Linked DNA regions of Homo sapiens: region 1 is linked to region 2. The links are contacts of gene promoters, found by promoter capture Hi-C in human tissues and cell types (Jung and others, 2019). All regions are on one chromosome and are shown on one strand. The core of a region is centred on a gene start or on the middle of the fragment in contact, and the rest is flanking DNA. Distances in the headings are between cores, read along the strand shown. Region 1 holds the start of ABHD16B (abhydrolase domain containing 16B). Region 2 overlaps YTHDF1 (YTH N6-methyladenosine RNA binding protein F1).

Region 1 (5,732 bases), core at 1,194-3,693, 650 kb before region 2:
CCTGGTACTCTTGCACAGGCCCGAGTCCCTTACCACCACGGCCTTAGCCTGCTCTCGTGCTCTCAGTAATGTTTTCTCCATTTGCTGCCTTTCATTCTTTCCAGAGATTCTTGCTCAACCCAACCAGGCCAGCCCGGGGACTAGGGACATGTAGGGACAATAGTCCCTGCTTCAGGCAGTTCAGGGCAGACCACAGAGATGTGACATTACAGACCATTGTGAGCAGAGGCCTTGTCCCATTCTGTGTTGCATCCCTAAGCCAGGAACAAAGTCCAGCCCAGGCCTGGCTCCAGGGGACACGCAGTAGTATCCTCTGGCCTGTGCAAGTGTATCTGTAGCCTCACATGCCACCATGTGAGTCTGCAATCTGTCTGTGAATGCCCTGGTGTAGAAGCCAGGAGTTTGGAGGTGGGAGGGAGCCCTACAGAATGATAGCCAGTGCTAACTCCTGGGAATGTCCAGCCACTAAGACCTGCCCACAGCCCTGCCATGCCAATGTCCTCCTTTTCACGGGAGCAGCTTGCACAGACTTTCAGCGCACAGCTGGCATTGTCTTCCCAGGAGCCATCCTGTAACCCAGGCCAGGTGAAGGGCTCCTCCCTGGGACCCCACAGCCCCGTTCCCATCATCCTTTTGTGGTGATCAAGGCACCCATCACACAGTATTGCCATAAACCGGGTCAGGTTAACCTTTCATTCCCTTAGGAGCTGGGTGGGGGCAGCCAAAAGTATTTGTAGGAGGAAGAGAGAAAGGAGGGGACAGAGCTAGGAAGAATGGGAGGACGGTCAGAACGCCCCTGTGAAGGAAGGAGAGCACCAAGTCCCCGTGTTCTGCCTACCCTCCCCCAGACAGCAGATCAGGAGCACCCCGCGCGCCCCCCCCCGCCCCGCCCCGCGTCGGCGCCGGCCCCCTGCAATGGTTGGCGGTATGGGGAGGTGAACCAAGAAGGCCAGGAGTTCAAGTGCGTGATCCCCCACTGGGGCATATAGGTTACAGCCGCCAGGGCAACTGAAACTCCTCAGGCTCCAGAGGGCTGAAGTGAGTCGCCTCCACGTTCTTGAGGTGCTTCCGAGCCAGGAACAGTGCGAGGCGCCGGCGCCGCCGCGAGCTCAGGCCCTGGCCCACCAGCCATGGGAAGGCGGGTCCGTGTGGCCCCAGGGCCTCCTCGCCCTCCAGCTCCTCTTCGCAGCGTGCACGGTAGGAGCGCAGCAGCGCCAGGCACCAGTCCTCGTCCACGCGGTAGCGTGCATAGAAGGCGGCCTCCTGCGCCAAGCTGCCAGCGCGCAGCCAGCGGGTGACGACGGCGCGGCCCTCTCGCGCCATCACGACGGGGTAGCGGTGCTCCAGCAGGCGCAGCAGCAGCTCATTGCCCCGGTTGCCCTCCACGTCACCAGGTGACAGGGGGCGCAGGCGGCCCGAAGTGCTGACCACGTCATCCTGCGTGCGTCGGAGCAGCAGCACCGGCCCCGGGTAGCAGCACAGCTGCTCGGCCACGTTGAGGTTGAAGTGCTCGCGCACGGTGCGCACCACCAGCCCCTTCCAACTGTGGGGCATGACCTTCAGCGCCAGCGGCACAAGGTCGTCGAAGGTGGCGTCCAGCACCAGTGCACCCAGCTCCGGGTAGGTCATGGTGGCCCAGGTGGCCGTGAAGCCGCCAACAGACCAGCCGTAGACCACCAGGTGCGCGGGCGGGAAGTGCAGGCGGTGCAGTGCGTACTCGACCACCACGTCCATGGCGTTGGCGTCGTGCTGAGGGAAGGGCACGCCAGTGCTGCTGCCGAAGCCGGGGTGGTTCCAGCCCAGCACGGAGTAGCCGGCCTCGAGCGGTGCAGACAGACAGCCCATCTCGTAGAAGCCCGCGTTGCCTTCGCAGCAGATGACGAGGCGCGGCCCGTGCACGTGGCTGCCCGGGTGCTGGCGGCGGTCCATGAACATAGTGTCGATCTCGTTGCCGTCACAGGCCACCAGCTTGGCGCGCCGGCCGTGGTAGCGCTCCACGAGGCGCTCTTGGCCCTGCTGCAGCAGCGGCAGCAGCGCGCGCGTCATCAGGGACACGGAGCCGGGGTACACGAGCCAGCGGCCCAGCGAGTGGGCCAGCGCGTAGCTAGCGAGCTGGCCGGGCAGCTCGCGGAGCTGCTGCAAGAGGCACTGCGCCTGGCTGCGCGCCCCACGTGGAGGCCGCCCCAGCGCATCCCCGCCCAGCGTCTCGTCCCGCAGCAACCACACGCCCGCCGCGGCTGCCGCGCAGGTCAGCGCCCGGTGGCTGCTGCTCCGGCCCACGGCGCGCACGTCATCCCAGCGGAAGGCCACGGGCCAGCCGCGGAATGGGTAGGTGTAGCTGGCGGTCAGGTAGATCTTGAACACGCGCACCAGCGCCTTCACGAAGCAGATGACGCACATGAGCGGTGGCCCTAACGCCCAGCCGCTGGGCCGGGATCGCCGCGAGAGGCACAGGGCAGTCTTAGGGGATACCGGCTCCCGGACAAGCCCTGATGGCCTTTGTGACCTGGCCTTCCAGGGCGGAGGGAAGGCTGCATCCTGTTGCTAGGTGATGGGTGCACAAAGGGTTCCCAGAGATGATGAACCCAAGGTTCTGCCCGTCCCCCGCCTTCGCCAAGACCCCACCAGCTAAACGCTCCCAGGCCCAGCTTTCCCACCCATGATTTGAGCAGCTACTGTCTCCCTCTTTCTTCCTTATTTATTTATTAAATTGAGATGGGGTCTCACTATGCTGCCTAGGCTGGTCTTGAACCCCTGGGCTCAAGCGATCCTCCCGCCTCCACCTCCCACAGTGTTGGGATTACAGGTGTGAGTCCCTGCACCCCGCCTCCACCTCCCACAGTGTTGGGATTACAGGTGTGAGTCCCTGCACCCCGCCTCCCTCTTCCTTAAATTTAAGATGGACAGCCCCACGGGCCAAAAAGGGACAGCAAGGCCTCCTCCGCCTGTACCAGGCTTGCTGTGGGTCCTGCAAGTTTCCCTTCAGGGTCTGCTGGTTTAAACCTCATCTCCCCAGGACGGCCGGGGTCAGAGACAGGGCTGCTGCTGCACCAAAAAGGCGGTATTTGCTCTCGGCCCGGCCCCTCCTCTCCACACCTTCCTTCTTCGGTGCTGACCAGAAACAAGCCCTCTCCTTTTCTGGATCCTCTTTTCACTGGCTGCCAGCAACAGCAGTGACCTTCTGGGGCGGGTCCTGCCTGGCTGGGGTTCCTCTTTCTCGCTCCTGGGTCGAGCCCCCACTCCCAGGCTGCGCCTCCCTCTTTTCTGGAGAGGTATCTTTTCTCCTGCCCTGGAAAGGGCCAGCCCACCTGAGGGCAGGGTCGGAAGCCGCCTGCCAGGAGGAGCCCCAGGGAAGAGGGCAGCTCCAGGTACTCAACAGCTCCCCAGACCAGAAACAAACATGCTACAATCAGGGAGTTTGGCAAATCCAGCCAGAGCCTCTGAGCCCAGGTGCCAGGCCCGCCTGGGACCCCAGCCTTCTGGGGAAGGGGTAGTTTCAGGCTGAAGCACCCCCTCTCTGCTCTCCTGCTCAGCGTCTGGGTTAGAGGCACTGCCTGACCCTAACAGGCCCCGCCCCTAGTTGGGGGAGTCAGCTGCTGCCTTTAGGGGTTGGGGGACAGAAGACAGGGACCAATTAACAAAGGGAGCGATTTGGGGGGCTATTACCCCCATTCTAGGTTGCCAGATAAAATACAGAATAATATGCCAGTTAAATTGGAATTACAAATAAACAAATACTTTTTGGGTATAAGTATGTTCCAACTTCTGCTTGAGACATTATTTTAAAATTGTTTATCTGAAATTCAAATTTAACTGGATATCCTGTTTTTTCTGTTTGTTTGTTTGTTTGTTTTTGAGACGGAGTCTCACTCTTGTCGCCCAGGCTGGAGTGCAATGGTGCAATCTCAGCTCACTGCAACCTCTGCCTCCTGGGTGTTCAAGCAATTCTCCTGCCTCAGCCTCCCAAGTAGCTGGGATTACAGGTGCCCGCCACCATGCCCGGCTAACTTTTTGTACTTTTAGTAGAGATGGGGTTTCACCACGTTGGTCAGGCTGGCCTCTAACTCCTGACCTCAGGTGGATCACCCGCTTTGGCCTCCCAAAGTGCTGGGATTACAGGCAGGAGCCACCGCACCCGGTCTAGATATACCCTGTTTTTAAATTTGTTTTTGTTTTGCTAAATCTGGCAGTCCTACCCCCAGGCACACACACAGTTGAGATCCAGATTTTCCTGGTTATCCAGCTTTGATCTCCGATTGGCTACTGTGCTCATTGGTCAAAGCCTGAGGACAAAGAGGGTGTCTCAGGGTCCACTGGTGCACCTGTCACACCATCCTTTCCACTGGGTCCTGGGCAGCAACAGGAGCCCTGCCCCAGGAGGAAACACACAGGGTACTGCCCCTGCAGCCAAGGGATGGGCAAGGCTTCCCCTGGGGATTGGTGGTTCTGGTCCTGCTCAAGTGTCCACCCCTGACCCTGTGGGGAAAGGAGCCTGGTGGATAGGGGTGGGGATGGAAACTTCTGCAGAGGGTGGGAGATGATTCCTTTCCCAGGAGCCTCTTTCATAAACTCAGCGGCTGCCTACTCTAGGCAGGTTGGGGCTGTGGGCCCAAAGGCTACCGGCCCATTTTGTGTGAGACCACAGGAGTGAACCCAGCAGCAGAGCCGAAGTTCTGACAGGAGGTGTCCCTGCCACCTCAGTTCAGATCCTGGCAGCGGCAGGAGTCCTGGAGGACTGTCCACGCAGGATGTTGGACGCACTAAACCTTATTTTGATTCCCCTGAGCAGATCCTGCTTGGAGGAGCCTCGTCCTCCTGGGGGCAGTCTCCCAGCTTGATCTGCTCTGGGACTTGTTTGGAAATGCAGGCTTTTCTTTAGCCAGGCCCACCTGCCCTTAGCTTCCCCCACAACAACCCACCCACACACACACACAGAGCAGGAAGTTCTTGAGAGGAGGAGGGGAGAGCCTGGGACCGGATTCTGAGGGGCAGAGGTCAGCGGGCTGGAGCCGCTGGCCCCCAGGGGTTCCATGCCTCATCCTGTGTCTGGCCCAGCCCCTGATCCCACCAGCCCACGGGAGTCCAAGTGCCCCAGAACCCCCGGCTCTGTTGAGACAGGAAAGCATGTGACAGGAAGGGAGCTGTCCCCTCTCCAGAAGAGCCCCCAGACGACCAGCTGCAGCAGCCATGACCTCTTGTGCCTCCACCGCCATCAGCTCAGGGAAGTGTCCACAAGGTGGAGGTGGGGGCTGTGTCCCTGCTGATCTGTTTGTGGAGGCAACCCCCACCTCCACCCCGGTGCCCTCCACGCCGACATCTGAGCGTGCACCCACCCCCACAGGGCCTGCCAGTCTCTGAGCCCTCCACCCCTTGGTTCCCACCCTCCTGCATTGGGCCCTCCTGCACTGGGGCAGGGCTCTCCCCCTGGCCAGTCCTGCCAACCCTCCTGCACTGAACCCTCCCTGGAGGCCCTTGATTTATGCCAGTGGAGCCTGCAGAGCCAACCTTGGAGAAGGAAGGAGAGGAGAGAGAGAAAACCAGTCCCAGAGGCCGGAGGGGCAGGAACCAGGATCAGAGCCCCTGGCAGAGGGCATCCGTCAGGGAGTGAGCCGACCCCAGCAGCCCTGGACTCAGGGAGCAGTGCCCAGGCCTTGGGAAAACTGAGGCTACCCTGGTGGGTGCGGGAGCTGAGTCTGCACAAACGCCTCTGCTCAGGAAATGGGGTGCAGGGA
Region 2 (5,505 bases), core at 1,684-4,183:
TGGAAATAGACTTTGCTAACTTTGCCTTCCAAGCTTAAAAGTAATCTTTTAAAATTTGAGGGTAATATTTTGCAACTTTTTGTTCTAGTACAAAATGGTTCGTTACATCAGAAGGATACAGTTCATGACAATGACTTTGAGCCCTACCTTACTGGACAGTCAAATCAGGTGAGTTTATTTTGTTAGCATATATTTGTTTTTAAGTTGGTTTTAATTGTTTTGTACCTTTACTGTCATTTCTGATTTTTAAATTATCCTAAACAACAAAGCAGCAGACTATAAAGTATTAGGAATGATAGACTGCTCATGAAGATGTGACTCCTGTTAACCTTGGGCATCAGTGGGGTGAAAATGATTTTCCCTGTGGAGGAGGCGGCATCCCACTGGGGCTGGGATGCAAACAGGTCTAGTTGGCTCTAGTGTTTGTGGGTCAGTGGTGTGTCTTGCCTTTGACGCAGTGGAGGTGTGTGTGTGTTTCTGAAGCTTCCTGGTTATTCTTAGCTCTGGATGATTGGAATTGTGGTCTGGGGAGGCAGCTAAGAGCTGGGCTGTGGAGCGACTGTGGAGCCAGAGGCCGCCTGGGTTTCAGTCCTTTTTTTGAGACAGCGTCTCACTCTTGCCACCCAGGCTGGAGCGCAATGGCGTGATCTCAGCCTGCTGCAGCCTCTGCCTCCCGGGTTCAAGCATTCCTCCTGCCTCAGCCTCGGGAGTAGCTGGAATTGCAGGCACCCACTACCACGTCTAGCTAATTTTTGTATTTTTAGTAGAGACGGGGTTTCACCATGTTGGCCAGGCTGGTCTCAAACTCCTGACCTCAGGTGATCCACCCGCCTCGGCCTCCCAGAGTGCTGGGATTATAGGCGTGAGGCACCGCGCCCAGCCTGGTTTCAATTTTAACTCCACCACTGACTGGCCTGTGTCCATGGCTTGCCTTCTCTTGCCTCAATTTCCTTTTCTGTAGAAGAGAGAGAGTAGTAACTGTTTGTAGAATTGTTGGGAGGATGACATCAGATGGTGCACATAAAGCGCTGAGACAGTACCTGATACAGCAGGGCCCAGTGAGTCATAGCTGCCCTGTTTTCTTAGGTAATTCAGGCTTTCTCTGCCTTGGCACTGTGGACATTTTGCACGGGAACATTCTGTTTTGGGGGCTGTCCTGTGCATTGTTGGATGTTTAGCAGCCTCCCTGGCTTCCCACCCACTAGATGCCATTAGCAACTCCTTCTCCCCATCCCCAGTTGTAGCAAGCAAAACTGTCTTGGTGGATGTTTTTTGGGGGATACAGTTGCCCTGGTTAAAATCTACTGGGAGCTGCTCTCTCTCCTCTGTGCTGCTGTTGCAGCAAAACTCCCAAGAGAAGCGGTATCTGTTTATGTCTAAGAGTCCAACTCGGGAATCAGACTTCCCCTGCCTCACTTTCCTACCTCCAGGCCGTTGGCTTGGATGAGGGGCTGCACCTCTGTGAGCTCCTCACTTTGGTGAGCAGGCCTCATGGGGCAGCACAAAGCAGATGCTCTGAGTGCTCCATTTCGTGTGCTGTGATTCACATTCCTTCCTCCGCCACTCCAAGTAGCCCTCAGCTACTGGGCATGTTTACTTTAAAGTAAAACCAGGCTTCACCTCTTCTCTGTGAAGGAATAAAACTAGTCTGCCCTTTTCTGAGGTGTCTTAGAACTTCTTAGAATGTTCCTTCATCCCCCTCCCTCCTACTGCACTTGGCGAATCAAGCAGCTTAGAGACCAAGAAACCTTGTACAGGTGGAGCCTCGGCAGCGCTGCCCCGCGCTCCGACCCTGCTTCTGTTTCTTGTCTCTTGGTTGCCTTCTGAGAATCTGCCCTTCCTCTGGGCAGAACTGACTTGACTTTAGTGATGGGCCTTTGGATAGAGGTAATGGCAGGAAGTTAACTAATTTTTTGAATTTCTTGTTTTCTAGTGTGTTCTTATTATTTTAGTACTTTAATGGTATTATGTACTGAATTTTAGCCAATAAAGGGGGAGGGAGGTTGCATCAGTACACTTAAAAGTGTGTGTGTGTGTGTGTGTGTGTGTGTGTGTGTGTGTGTGTGTGTGTATTTTGGAGACAGGGTCCTGCTGTTACCCAAGCTAGAGTTCAGGGGCATGATTATAGCTCACTGTAGCCTCAAATTCCTGGGCTTAAGCAATCCTCCTGCCTCAGCCTCCTGAATAGCTGGGACTACAGGCATGCACCACTACACCTGGTGATTGATTGATTGGTTGGTTGTAGACACAGGGTCTCTTTGTGTTGCTCAGGCTAGTCTTGAACTTCTGGGCTCAAGTGATCTTCCTGCTTTGGCCTCCCAAAGTGCTAGGATTACAGGTATGAGCCACTGTGCCCAGCCAAAAATATTTTTATAAAGTCGGAGCTTTTGTGTTGTTTGGGAGGATTTCTTTACAAATCGATTATTTTTATGTCAGTGGGTGTCTTAGCTCCATATGTAGAGTATACAGTATGGTTTTATAACTTTTGATTTACACAGACATACCTTTGGAGCCATGGCCACAGTTAAGATAGTGGGCATATCAATAGCTCTGGGTCCTTTTTTGTTGGAGACAGGGTCTCACTCCATTGCCCAGGCTGGAGTGCATGATGTGATCATGGCTCACTGCAGCCTCGACTTCCCAGGCTCAGGTGATTCTCCCACCTCAACCTCCCAAGTAGCTAGGACTACAGGCATGTGCCACCACGCCCAGCTAATTTTTAAATTTTTAGTAGACATGAAATATTGCTGTGTTGCCCAGGCTGGTCTTGAACTCATGGGCTCAAGCAATCCACACGCATCAGCCTCCCAAAGTGCTAGGATTATAGGCATGAGCCACTAGTGCCCAACCTAACCCTGGGTACTTAAAAGAGAAAAATCTAGATATGGTTTGTAGTAGCCAGTTGGAGGCTACCGTGTTTTGTGTGAAACTGTCATACTTAGAATGGTTTAGAAAGTCTTAGGAGAATGCCTGCCTGTTAGGTTGGTTTAACTTGTAATGGGCTGTGAGGGGTTGTTGCCGTGTGGTGGGGGTCCTTCCCTCAGAGAGGCCTCACCCGCCTTGCTGTGCTTCTGGTGCTAGAGTTTCAGTCCTAGTTGCCCCTGAGGCGCTTGCGACTGTAGCCGCTCAGTATCTGTCTTCTAGTCTGTGACTTGAATGGGAGTTGGGGGAGCAGAGGAACTGGGAGTGAAGGGCTCTGGGTTGGGCTTGATTGTTGTGATTTTCTCTCTTTTTTTGTTTTTTGAGATGGAGTTTCGCTCTTGTTGCCCAGGATGGAGTGCAGTGGCGCGATCTCAGCTCACTGCAGCCTCCACCTCCCTGGCTCAAGTGATTCTCCTGCCTCAGCCTCCCGAGTAGCTGGGATTACAGGCACGCGCCACCACGCCTGGCTAATTTTTTTTGGTATTTTTAGTAGGGACGGGGTTTCTCCATGTTGGTCAGGCTGGTCTCGAACTCCCGACCTCTGGTGATCCCCCTGCCTCAGCCTCCCACAGTGCTGGGATTACAAGCATGAGCCACAGTGCCCCGCCGATTCTCTCTTTTGAGGCTTTTCCTGCTCGGGGACTTCTGGTTTCCCAGTTCTCTGTTGTTTTCTGAAAGGAAAGACTGTGAAATGACCCAGAACAGTTCCTACTCAGAGTTTAGAAGACACTGTCTTGGCATGATGCCTGAGTTGGGAATAGATGCCGCTGGCCCCCCAGGCTTCCTGCACACTCCCTGACCAACAGACTGAGTGTGTTTGCTGTGATCCCACTGACAGAAATTACCAAGGCCATCTGGGCATGCCTGTACCTGTGCTGCCGGATGCAGTTTGGTCAGCAACAGACCACAATATGATAGTGGTCCCATAAGACTATGATGGTGCTGAAAAATTCCTGGCACCTGGTGACGTTGGAGCTACCATGTTGAGGGCAGTGTATTACTCGTGTCTGTGGTGCTGCAGTAGGTGTGACCAAACCTACTGCCCCAGTCATACCAGAGTATACACCTACAGTTACGTACAGTACCATACAGTACGTAATAATTGATGATAAACGACTGTTACTACTTTGTGTATTTGCTATACTTTTAAGAGCATATTCTGCCTACTTACTAGAAACAAAGTCAACTGTAAAGCAGCCTCAGGCAGGTTCTTCAGGAGGAATCCAGAAGAAGGCAATTGGTGTGACAGGAGATGACAGCTCCATGTGTGTTGTTGCCCCTGAATACCTTCCAGTGGGGCAAGATGTGGAGGTGGAAGATCCAGACCCTGTGTAGGCCTAGGCTAATATGTGTTTTTTGTGTCTTTTTGGGTTTTTGGTTTTTTTGTTTTGTTTTGTTTTGAGGCAGGGTCTCTCCCTCACCTGGGCGGAAGTGCAGTCATGACTCATTGCAGCCTTGACCTCCTGGGCCCAAGTGATCTTCCTGCCTTATTTTTGATTTTTTGTAGAGATGGGGTCTCACTGTGTTGCCTGGGCTGTTCTCGAAATCCTGGGCTGAAGCAGTCCTCCTGCCTCGGCCTCCCAGAGGGCTGGGATTATAGGCATGAGCCACTGTGCCTGGCCGTGTCTTCATTTATAACAAAAAAGTTCAAAAAGTTAAAAAAAATTTAATAGAAAAAAGCTTATGGAATAAGGATATAACAAAAAAAATTTTTGTACAGCTATATGATATATTTGTGTTTACAAAAGAGTCAAAAACCTTAAAGCTTTTAAAAAAGTAGTTTGTAAAGTAAAAAAGCCATAGTAGGCTAGGGTTTATTATTGAAGAAAGGAAAATTTAAAAATTGAGTGTAGTGTTAAGTGGACGGTGTTTCTAAAGGTGACAGTGGTGTCCAGTGAGGGCCCAGGCCTTCACATTCTCTCCCTGACTCACCCAGTGCAACTCAGGCCTACCTGCTCCATTCACCGTAAGTGCTCTGTACAGGTGTCCCGTTCTTGATTTCTTATACCGTATTTTTACTGTACCTTTTCTGTGTTTAGATAATGTTTAGACACACAGATACTTATCATTGATGTACAGTTACTTCCATTATTCAGTACAGTTACACACTGTACAGGTTACGGCCTCAGTGTGTGGTAAGGATACTGCCTCCATGCTCACACGTCTCTGTTTGTGTGAGGACACTGATCACACAGTGACGAAATTGCTCATCAGGTTTTGGGTGGTTTTTTTTCACTGAACACAATGCCTCATCAGAGCATCTAGGACTTCTTTGAGAACAGCCTGGAGATGCTTGGCACAGGGCTTCCTGCTGTGCCTGGGCAGCTCTGGTGGGCCCGGGGTGACCTGAGGGCCAGCAGGGGAGTGTCAGTTTCTTGTGGCTGCATCTAAAAATATGGGCTTCCTTAAAATACCCAGTGGCAGCGCCTGCTAAGTAGGCATTTGCCATCACAACGGCTTCCCAGAAACGCAGCTGGAAGGACATAGTGGGATCTTAACGTGCTTCTTACTGGCAAGTTGCTGAAACAAATGCAGAAATTCTGTCAGAAACTGCTGTCTCTGCATATTGATGCCACCAGCTGA

What was found. Contacts are between HindIII fragments. The study calls those that stand out against the background at their distance.
Region 1: the fragment with the promoter of ABHD16B here is called in contact with a fragment that was not itself captured in region 2 in 1 of the 25 tissues and cell types used here (lymphoblastoid cells).

Annotation. Positions count from the first base shown.
Region 1 is chr20:63,858,209-63,863,940 of GRCh38, reverse strand. It overlaps ABHD16B (abhydrolase domain containing 16B), which reads right to left and starts at 2,443. Exons shown (of 1, transcript NM_080622.4): 1 at 953-2,443. The coding sequence starts at 2,400. The coding sequence ends at 991. It overlaps ABHD16B-AS1 (ABHD16B antisense RNA 1), which reads left to right. Exons shown (of 2, transcript NR_165314.1): 2 at 1-2,726. RefSeq lists a silencer at 5,236-5,395. The HindIII fragment of the contact is 14,540 bases long and covers 1-5,732 here.
Region 2 is chr20:63,208,527-63,214,031 of GRCh38, reverse strand. YTHDF1 (YTH N6-methyladenosine RNA binding protein F1) reads left to right here. Exons shown (of 5, transcript NM_017798.4): 3 at 89-168. Among named protein-coding and RNA genes, the nearest start is that of YTHDF1, 4.9 kb to the left of the region's middle. The HindIII fragment of the contact is 5,349 bases long and covers 259-5,505 here.